3 separate regions of the Homo sapiens genome follow, and regions 1 and 3 are each linked to region 2. Evidence: promoter capture Hi-C in 16 types of primary human blood cells and fetal thymus (Javierre and others, 2016). All regions are on one chromosome and are shown on one strand. The core of a region is centred on a gene start or on the middle of the fragment in contact, and the rest is flanking DNA. Distances in the headings are between cores, read along the strand shown.

Region 1 (3,723 bases), core at 464-2,963, 1.2 Mb before region 2:
TCTTTTTTTTATCCTTTCTCTCTTGCCTTTCAGTCCCAAGTCCACTAAAATCTGGCCCTCATCTTGACCTCTCCCTCAAATTGCTCTCAACCCAGGTCAATAATGGCATCTTGGTTGTTAAATACAACGGAAACTTTCTAGCCTTTTCCTTATTTGTCTTCTTGGTTGCATTTGCCACTGTTGACACTTTCTGTAAGCTCAGCTTCCTCCCTTGGTTCCTCTGACTCCCCTAATTTTCTGGTTCTCCCTCTCCTTCCTTGCCTCTGCCTTCTCATTGTTTTGCAGGCTCTTCCTTTACAGCTCATCATTTAAGGATTGGTAAATGTTGGAATTGCCCAGAGATCTCTTGTAACTCTGTGTTTTCTTCCTGAGAAAGCCTGTCTATTATGATTGTAATACCGTTTTTATCCTGATGATTTCCACATAATTTTCTTCAGCCAAGATCAATCTTCTGAGCATCAGACTTTATTCCTGCATTCATCCACTCAATAAATATTTACTGGTGCTCACTATGTGCCGAATACTGTTTTAGAGATGGAGATTCAGTAGTGAATAAAGTCCTTGCCCTTGCTGGAACTTACATTCTTCTAAAGCAGAAACATGCACACACACACACACACACACATATTCTGTGAGGTGGTGAAAAGTGCTATGAGAAAAATAAAGCAAATGAGGGAGTGCTGGGGTGTGGGAGAAAGATTTTTCTCTTTATAAAGTGTGGTCGGTAAGTCCCCTTTAATCAGGTGACGTTTAAGCAGAGACCTGAACGAAGCCAAGAAGGGAGGGAGCCAGGCAGATATCTGGGGGAAGAGCTCAGCTGTCAGAGAAAAGAGCTAATGTGAATGGTCATCACCATCATTCTCCTCTGTCCTCACTGAGGCTGAGTAAGAAGTCCCATATGATGAGAATCTTCTACCTTGGGCCAAGAGGTGGATAATTAGGGGAAGAAGTGACTGGTGCCATTTCTAAATTCTCCCTTCTTGCTCCTACACTCAACAAATGGGCTTCTTTTCTTGCTTAATGTAGTTGAATCATACAGGTGGGCTAGAAAGAATTGAAATAGTCTCTGTAAATTACTGGCTATCCCAGAAGCCATGTGGCAACAATTATCTTCCCCCACAAAACCGCTTCTCCACCCATGTTCTCATTGTCAGTGACAGACACTGGCATCCACCCTGTTGCCCAAGCTAGAAACATGGACATCACCCTCCCTCATCCTTAACATCTGATTCATCACCAAGTTCTTGTAGGTGGCATTCTCTCTCAAATCTGTCCATCTCTTTCAATCTCTGTTGCCCCTATATAAAACCAGTCACTCTCCTCTCTGCTTTGGATGACTGCCCCAGACCTCTCTGTTGGTTTCTTCTCTTCTTGTCAGTCCCTCCTCCAATCTATTATCTGCAGGCCAGTTAGGGGAGCTGTCTCTAAAACAGAAATCTAACCTTAAACTTTTCACTGGCTCCACGTTGCCCAAGGGAAAGCTCCTGTACTGCCTCCAACACTCCATACCCCAGTCAGGTTGAGCTGTTTTGACTCTCTTAAAAAATCTATGTTCGGCCGGGCACGGTGGCTCACACCTGTAATCCCAGCACTTTGGGAGGCCAAGGCAGGCGGATCACGAGGTCAGGAGATGGAGACCATCCTGCCTAACACGGTGAAACCCCGTCTCTACTAAAAATACAAAAAATTAGCCAGTTGTGGTGGCGGGCACCTGTAGTCCCAGCTACTCAGGAGGCTGAGGCAGGAGAATGGCGTGAACCCGGGAGAGCGGAGCTTGCAGTGAGCCGAGATTGCACCACTGCACTCCAGCCTGGGCAACAGAGCAAGACTCTGTCTCAAAACAAAAACAAAACAAAAACAAAAGACTATGTTCTGGCCAGGTGCGGTGGCTCACACCTGTAATCCCAGCACTTTGGGAGGCCGAGGCGGATCTCATGAGGTCAGGAGTTTGAGATCAGCCTGGCCAACATGGTGAAACCCCCTCTCTACTACAAAAATACAAAAATTAGCTGGACGTGGTGGTAGGTGTCTGTAATCCCAGCTACTCGGGAGGCTGAGGCAGGAGAATTGTTTGAACCCGGGAGGTGGAGGTTGCAGTGAGCTGAGATCACGCCACTGCACTCCAGCCTGGGTGACAGAGTGACATTCTGTCTCAAAACAAAAACAAAAACAAAAACCTATGTTCTTTCTGATACAGAATGTTTTTATGTATTATGATGCTATTCCCTTGTCTGGAAACTTCCCTTCTCCTCCCATTTACTTGACCATTCCTACTCATGCTTTGGGTCTTGGTTTAGATGTCACTTCTTCCAGAAAATATCTGACTTTGGCTAAGTTCCTTGTTGTAGGTGCTCCAGGTCCCCTCTAGTCACTGTACTTTTCACTGGACTGTGATCATTTGTTGAATTACCTATGCTCCAAACTACAGTGCATGCTCTCTGAAAGCAGAGACTGGGGTATGTATCACTACACCCTAGTCTCTGGCACAGAGTGGATGTTTGACGGTTATTTTTTTGGATAAATGAATGAGTAAATGAAGTGACACTTGAGCAAAATTAAAGAACGAATAGGAGTTACCTGGATAAAGAGGTAGTGAGAACACAGAGGGTGTCCCCGTGGAGAGCACAGCTTGAATAAAGGCACAGAGGTGAGAAATATCATGGTGAATGAGGGAAACTATATGCAGTTTGGTGTTTCTGAGGCATAAAGCATGAATATGGAATTGGCAAGAGGCTCGAGAGACCAGTCAAACCATGGAGGGTTTGTGGGTCAGGTTAAGTTATTTAAACTTGATCTTGTAGGCAATGAGGAGCTTACAAAATATGCTTTAGATGTTTAATACAGACAGTTCTATGAAGATTGAATTTGAAGGCAGCAAGAATAGAGACTAGAAAGAGTTGTTAGGAGGTTGCCACAATTCTTCCTAGCTCTGCCTTACAATATGATTTAAGTTTTTTCATCCTGACCCTCAGTATTAAAATTTTATTGTCACTAGAATCCTAAGACAGCCCCCATAATCTATGCTCTTGGGTGTTACTCCATGATTATGTTATATGGCAAGAGAGATTTTTGCAGATGAAATTAAGTTTATTAATCAATTTGCTTTAAAATGAGGAGATTATCTAGGCTGGACTAACCTGAGCACATGACCTCTTTAAAAGCACAGTTTTCTTCTTGATGATCGCAGAAGTTGGAGAGAATTGAAGCATTAGAGGGATTCAGTATGAAAGAAATTCTCTTTTGTGGACTTTGAAGGTGGAGGAATTCACATGGGAAAGGACTGAGAGTGGTATCTAAGAGCTGAGAGAGGCCCCTTTGGGGCCAGCCAGCAAAGAAACAGGGACCTCAGTACTACAATCACAAGGAAATGAATTCAGCCAATAACCACATGAGTATGGAAGCAGGTCACTTCTCAGAGTCTTTAGGTAATAACTCAACCCTGTTGACATTTTGATTTCTGCTGGTGATGCCCTGAGAAGAGAACCCAGTCTTGCCATGGTAGACTTCTGACTGCATAACTGTGAGCTAATCAATGGGTGTTGTTTAAACAATAAGTTTGTGGAAATGTGTTATGTAGCAATAAAAAAGCCAATACAAATATAGCAAGAGACTATTGTATTACTTTTAGTTGTTTATAGAAGGATGCTTGTCATATCTCCTTTTGCTTTATGAACAATTGTTTTTGGATTGGATCATAATAAAAGGACAACTGACACTGTGGCC
Region 2 (3,640 bases), core at 183-2,682:
TCCCTGGTGGAGAATACTTTCACAAACTACTCCCCTCAAACATACGAAGTTGAAAATCACAGTAGAGTGAAATACTAAAACAGATGATAATGTTTCATATGGATTACATTTGTTACAGCTAAAAAAAAAAGCCAATTACTGCTACAAACATTGAGTAATAACTGTGGTATTCTGACGAGGAAAGAACATGGTGATGATCAGTCTGAGTGGCAAGTAAGACCAGTTAGGTGGTGCAATGAGCAGGACATGAAATATTAACTGTAACAGCTGTGACAGCACTAGAAAGCAGGAAAAGATCAGATGCTATAAGGTAAAAAGCATCAAGGTGAATGGAAAACTGGCATGAAATGATTCCAGGGTTCATTCTTTAATTCAACAAATATTTATCCAGTGCCTACCACGTGCCAGGTCCTAGAAGCTGGGACTAAAGATAACAGGGCAATCTTTGCCTTAAACAAGTTTTAGTCCAGAAGACGAGAAAGCCAGTGCCAATGATGAAACTCAAGTGAGGTGGATTTCCAATGGACATGTTGGTTTTGTTTGAAATCAGCAAAGTTGGGAAGCACCCAACTAATCACTGGGGATTCTACTGATCAAAGACTACAACGTTTTATAGTACAATATGAAAAAATTACCCAAATATAGGTTACTCACTAGCATTTACCGAGGGCACACTATGGAAAACACGTTGCTGCAACAGAAAACCTTGAGAACACCAAAGTTAGAATAAATTAAGTAATTACTGGTAATATGAGGTGTGAACTTCAGTGACCTAATTAGGCTACTGTCAACACCGCCACTGGTTCGGACAGAACAGGTAAAGCAAGTCTTCTAATATCCACCCTTTCTTACTGCACTCTTGAAAAGTAGTAAAGCTTGGACTGTGGCAATTACCTGATTAGGGGGTTTCCCCAAAAGGTGCTGACCTGAAAAGGAAGGGACATGCTGTGGATGTGAGTTATCCATTTCCTTGCGAGGACAAGTTTGAATCTCCTGATAAGGAAAATTCTTTCGCAAATTCCCTCCCTCACAACTAAGAAAAGTACAAGAACCTGGAGCTCAGGGCGTACGGAACTCCCACCCCAGACCTCCCCAGGGAAACCTACAGAGGTTCCTGGCCTGCAGGGCAGTTCTAAAGCGCCCAGCCGCCCTCGCCGGGTTCGCACTGAGCCAGCGCCGCGGGGAGGAGCCCACGCGGGCCGCCAAGCCTGCCCGGCGCTCCTCCGTACCTGATGCTCCCTTTTGGAGGAAGGCTCCTCTTTCACCTCCGTCACAAACACACACGGCATTTTCCGCTGCACGGAGCCCAAGCGCTTCATGATGAGCCCAACAAGCAGTGCGAATGGAGGGCGTGCTTTCGAGCGGCGCCCGGTCCAGTCGCGGAGAAGCCCTGAAGCAGTCACCCGCACGGCTCAGGCCACGCACACTCCGCGCCCAGCCACCGCGGCTGCGCCCCAACTACCAAGCCCAGCGAGGGGCGGGAACGCCCGTCCAGAAGCGGCTTCCTGGCCGCGGCGCCTTCTGGGAGTTGTAGTGCAGAAGCTGAGGCGCCTGGTGGGTTCCCACGTGCGTCCTCCGCCCCCCACCCTCGGTTTTAATAACCGTGAAAAAAAAAAAAAAAAGATGCGTTTCCCGAACGTGGGTACTTAGCAATACCTAGTAACTAATGATTTTTTGGGAAATTAAATAAGATCAAATTATAAGCAATGAACATTTCAGATGTCGATTTAACACAGTTCCAATGGAAACTGCTTGCCTGTTATCTTTAGTTCGTGGGGGAAGCACTGTAGAAGTTTAGAAATGGCTAGAGACATCCCCAGATTCCCAAGCAGAATGAAAACTTCCTTTCCGGTAAGACTATCAGAAAACCCTATAATAAAACACCTGGGATCAAAAAAAGTTGTCGTTTGAACTACTCCTTATTGTGCAGCATAGCATGGTCGAAATGATTCTGATGTTCTTTTCGGAGTGAGTGCGAAATTTCAGCCTTAGACTAATCCAAAAGTACAGGAATACCTACAACCAGATTTCATTCTCAAGTTTTTCATAAGAATCTTGTTTAATTAAAGGTGAGCTCCAACAGCCCAAATGGCTTGAGTAATGGTAGTCAATCAACTGCGAGCTAAAAACAGCCTTAACTTACTGCTCAAAAGAATATTTTGAGGGTAAGTGATAAGATGGACAATGACTAAATAAAATAAATACTAAATATTTAGGAATAGTAGCCTTTCCATCTCATTGAATGTAGTAGTTCCTAGCCTGAAGTTGTAGGGGAATTTTGACTTTACTGCCATCCTTTATGGGCTTGGACTAGGCCCAGGTCTCATTTCTTTGTCTTATCTGCATGTACTCAACTGTCCAGCATGTTACTGACTTAGCCCTTGGAAAAATTAAACAACTATATCTCACTTAGAGGTATCTAACTAGTAAGGGGGTTCTCAAAGAATAAAACATCTTCCTTTAAAAAGTTCACAGTTATATTGAATACTGACAGTGAAAAAAAATAAAATTTAAAAAAAGTTCACAGTTTTTTGATTACTGGATTCAGAGGGGAGGGAGGAAGAAAGAGATTTGCCATTTCAAAGTGTTTACTTTCTTTTCTACTATCTTTTTCTCACAGGAAAACACAAAATGTTCTCCCACATCACACCCCGCCTGCATTTATCAAAAAAGAAAACACCTGATGCTGGCTGTGTGCTGTTGGAACCAGAAACTTTTTAGCATATTATAGTCGAGTGCCAGTGACTTCTTTGTTCTTTCAGAGGCATTCTAAAAAGCGGCGTGTTTCACGAATCTCAGAGACAACAACTTTCACAACTATCAACTGTCACCTCCCAAACTGCCACAGAACCTTTTAAGTCCAACATTCTGTCATTTGTGGGAAATACTCATCTTCTAAAACACACTCTACTTATTCTTTGAATAGTAGTTGCAAAGCTAGTCATCTCTCAGGAAGCACTTTCTATTTCCAAAACTTTGGTTTCATCAGTACCTGGAGCAAAGCTTCTGGCAGAAACACAAATCCTCATCAGGGGAGAGGCACAGGATCAACTCACGGTTATAAACTGGACTCCTGCTCTGACGGGTAGCAGCCATCAACTTTGCCCGATTCTCATAATTCTGAAGGGTCACCAAGGAGTTGCTACCAGCCACTGTACTTAAAGTGGTGTCACAGGATTACAAAATAGAAGAAAGTCTTTCTTCTCTGACTAATATGTTAGTGCTCTAGTAAGCATCAAAGATGAAAGACACACAATGTGAGCCTGCTTTGGCCAACACAAAGTACTTACAGAATTTTCAGGCCTACTTCCAGCCCTGGAGACAAATTTCCCATCATTCTTCATTACAGGAGTAATCATCCTCATAGGGCTGTAATAGCTTTTTTTTTTTTTTAGATGGAGTCTCGCTCTATCACCCAAGCTGGAGTGCAGTGGCTCAATCTTGGCTCACTGCAATCTCCACGGCTTGGGTTCAAGCGATTCTCCCGCCTCAGTCTCCTGAGTAGCTGGGATTACAGGCGTGTGCCACCACGCCCAGCTAGGTTTTGTATTTTTTTTAGTAGAGACAGTGTTTCATCATGTTGGTCAGGCTGGTCTTGAACCCCTGACCTCATGATCTGCCCACCTCTGCCTCCCAAAGT
Region 3 (3,545 bases), core at 665-3,164, 1.0 Mb before region 2:
TCCACGCTTTTCATGGAATGTCATGGTTAACTGATAAGCTGCCCCCAAACTCGGTATCCTGGTTTAATGTTATAATCATAATGCCCTCTGAGATCACTTAGAGAAAAGCTGAGGGTAGCAACTCTGTGGATTCTTATTTACCTTATGCGTTTGACATCTGCAATGATGTGCTTCTTTACCACCTCCCTCATCAAATTAAACTAAGAATGAAAACAGATGGGCTGGGAAGCCAGTGGATCAAAAGAAGGACCTGGGGGAAGCTCAGCTTGGGGACCGGCTTGCTCTTTGCCCTCACTATTTGTCAACTGGGAATCTCCTGGGTGCTCAGCTGTGCTGGAATCTCAGGTAAGGCAAAGACTTTGTCAGTTTCTATCAGGCCCAAGTGCTTAACAAGATCTTAAGTCTACATATGGAGTTGCTGCTAGGTCTCCTAAAGCAGGTGATGTGTTCAGAATTACAGGCTGTATAAATGTCACAGAGTCAGTCGGGAGAGTACCCATTTGTGAGGAGAGGTGAGCAGTTGAAAACTCCTTTATATTTTAGTTAGTTGACCCCACTTACTTCATCTGGGTAGAGTGTAATGAAGCTGATTACTGGGTCCCTTTAAAATTATTGATTAAAATTTAAGGTAATCTATCTAAACTATACATTCCTGATTATTGATAGAACTCTAAGCAGTTTAATTCACTTGTTACTCACGCCTAGATTGGAATTTGTAAAGTGGCTAGTGTCCAGATACTTGTCCTAGAGGTCACTTAGGCTCTAATTGATTTTCCTGAAAGCTTTGAAACTATCTGCCATTTTAACTCTCAAACTTTTTTTGACAGTCATCTCCCGGTTGGCTCTCTCATTTGAGTGTGTTTTCATTGCATGTTATTATTTCTTTGTTTTATTATCCAAGTTCATATGAAAATGAACCCAAAGTATTATATTTTAGCTGCCCATTCCCATTATGGGATGTCTAGAGTCCTGCTTTTCCTTATTATTATTTTTTTAAATTTAAAAACCCTAACACTTGCAGGCTTTAATAGTCTTTCTTCTTTGATGCATTTCAGATAAAGAAAATGGTTGTAAATTGAGAGAAATCTTTCTGATTCGTGCCTATGCATTGATCTTATCCATAAGGATCTGTCTTCAGAGGAGAAATGTATAGTCTAGACAGGAAGAGGAATAGTGGGTATAGGGAAACAACAGGCAGAGTGGAGCTCCCCCTGGCTCTGTGGATTTAACCTCTGGGAACAAACACCCACAACGGGTCCCTGCGTTTGAAAAGGATTAGTAAAGCTGAGGGGGCTAAATAAATATTCATGATCACATACAAGCAAATGATTAGAAGTCAGACAACCTGCCCCTGGTAAGAGTCTGTTATAAGCAAAATATTCTCCCTAGAAGGAAAGGAGATTGATATTAACAATTTTCATTGGTCTTGGAGAGACTGATCTTATTGTCTGTCAAATGAAGTTAGAATTAGGTTTGAAAGAGTCTTAAGCTTCTTTAATAATCTATCCTAATCACCTGTCTAATGCTATACCCCGTTACTACAGAAACATCTTTAATACCCTTTTATTTGAGGAGTCTATTCTGGGAAATATTCTGTTGATGGAGAGTTTAGGGGGATCTGATGTTGTTCAGCCAACTTAAAATCAATCTACCAAAATTAATTTGGACCACCTACTATTTGCCTGTTTTTCTAGTTGCTGAGATTATGACAGTATTAAAGGTGTAGTGGATTGCATCGCTGGCCTTGAGTCTTGATCCCATCCCTTTCCATACTTGTTGCTGGGTAACTTTGAAATTCATCTCACTAAATAGAGAGACATGTTGAGTGGCCAGCCAGTCCAGATTTACCCAAGGACTTTCCTGGTTTTACTATGGAAATTTCTGCATTCTGGAAGCCCCCCAAGTCCTGGGCAATCTGAGATGGTTGGTCACTCTTAGTGAAGTGTATTTCTATATCCCTTTGCTGTGAGATAGGTCTTGTGTTATATTTGGCCAATAGGATGAGGTAGAAATTACAGTGTGTCAGTTCTAAACCTATTCCTTAATAGACTTTGCATGTTTGCCCTATCTGTGCTTCTGCTGTCACCATAAGTACATGCTCTGATTATCACGTTGATCCAAGTAGGATGTTGGTGTGTAGAGCACAGCCAAACTCAAGACAGCAGCCCAGATAAACCCCGTTTGTACCAGCCAATCTCCAGCAAAGTTATAGTTACATGAGCAATAATAAATGGTCATTGTTTTGAACTACTGATTTTTGGCATGCTTTATTACAAACAGCAATAATCAACTTGTACAAATAAATTTTATCAGTAGCAGAAATTGGGCTGAAAGCTTTACATAGATCATTTCCTGCTACCACACTGTGAAGTAGTAATTATTATCTCTATTTTACTGTTAGTCAAATGGTTGGTACATAGGAAGATGGAATAAATATCCAAGGTAAGCAATGAAGATTATTTCAAACTCATTTCTAAAGTAATCTAATACCTTAAAGATTTTAAGCATTATCATGCAGTATAAGCTCATTATAAAAGATTTAAGCAAATCAGAAATATAAATAAGAAAAAGCAAAATGTCATTCCTTCCATTCCTGGCTCTCTTTCTCATTTCTCTAACTCTTTCTCTCTGATATAACCGCCATCAACTTTTGGTATAAATCTTTCCAGATGTTTTTCTATGCATTTTATAAACATATTTCTGTATTTAAAAATTTCATATAATTGGAAATTACATATAGTTCTGCAGTATTTTCTCTGGATATTTCATATAATTCCATGCTGATACATATAGAGGCATCCTATGCTCTTTTAACCGCTACTTATTACTTCATAAAATGACAGTACCGTAATTTGAACATTCTATTAATAATAAGCATTGCAATTGATTCCAATTTTCCCTATTCCAAATGATTCTATGAACTTTTTTTTCACATATCATTTTGCACATATGGGTATTTCTATAGAAAAAAATTCTACAGCTTAATGCCATTTTCAGCCAATTATACCTTAATGTTTAATATACCGTGTGCAAAGAATTGTAGACTAGTACTTGTGCACCATAAGCAAGTGCTCATCCGATACTGAGCTCGTATTTCAGGACCCTCCTTCCCCTGTTGGGGGCATTTTGCAGATCATTCATGACAGCCTGTAAAGTGCCTTAGTTGTAGTTGTTTGTCCTCAGGTGAAGTGCATTGTGTTGTTATCAGCTGTTGAATTTGTTGATCTTCCACTTCACATAACGTGGATGATTCTCTAGAAGCTATACCCACCGTCCTGAAAGACCCCATTAACTGCAGATGCTTGCTGCTTAAGCAACAAATCAGTGAATTTCTTCAATGGAAACTTTTGTCTAATTAGAGAGTAAATCATGGTATGTACTTTGGGTACACTTTGAAGTGGACTTGGCCACTGTTTCAGTTTAGACTGTTAATAATGGTTCTTATCAAAAGAGACATGAAAGCTGCTGTCTAATAGAGGTTCCCCTGGCTGGAAGGAAAAACTGGAGGAAGAGAGAAAGAAAAAAAAATATGAGGAGAGAAAGAG

The links. Contacts are between HindIII fragments. The CHiCAGO score rates a contact against its expected background, and 5 or more counts as called.
Region 1: a fragment that was not itself captured here is called in contact with the fragment with the promoter of RLIG1 in region 2 in 1 of 17 cell types (non-activated CD4 T cells); the score reaches 5.6 in non-activated CD4 T cells.
Region 3: a fragment that was not itself captured here is called in contact with the fragment with the promoter of RLIG1 in region 2 in 1 of 17 cell types (activated CD4 T cells); the score reaches 6.8 in activated CD4 T cells.

The regions. Positions count from the first base shown.
Region 1 is chr12:89,231,936-89,235,658 of GRCh38, reverse strand. No RefSeq gene overlaps it. Among named protein-coding and RNA genes, the nearest start is that of DUSP6, 120 kb to the left of the region's middle. The HindIII fragment of the contact is 5,220 bases long and covers 1-3,723 here.
Region 2 is chr12:88,033,328-88,036,967 of GRCh38, reverse strand. RLIG1 (RNA 5'-phosphate and 3'-OH ligase 1) reads right to left here and starts at 1,432. Exons shown (of 7, transcript NM_001009894.3): 1 at 1,230-1,432. The coding sequence starts at 1,319. LOC107984542 (a long non-coding RNA gene) reads left to right here and starts at 1,472. Exons shown (of 3, transcript XR_007063395.1): 1 at 1,472-1,554; 2 at 2,621-3,257. The HindIII fragment of the contact is 2,128 bases long and covers 878-3,005 here.
Region 3 is chr12:89,044,262-89,047,806 of GRCh38, reverse strand. No RefSeq gene overlaps it. Among named protein-coding and RNA genes, the nearest start is that of LINC02458, 26 kb to the right of the region's middle. The HindIII fragment of the contact is 845 bases long and covers 1,492-2,336 here.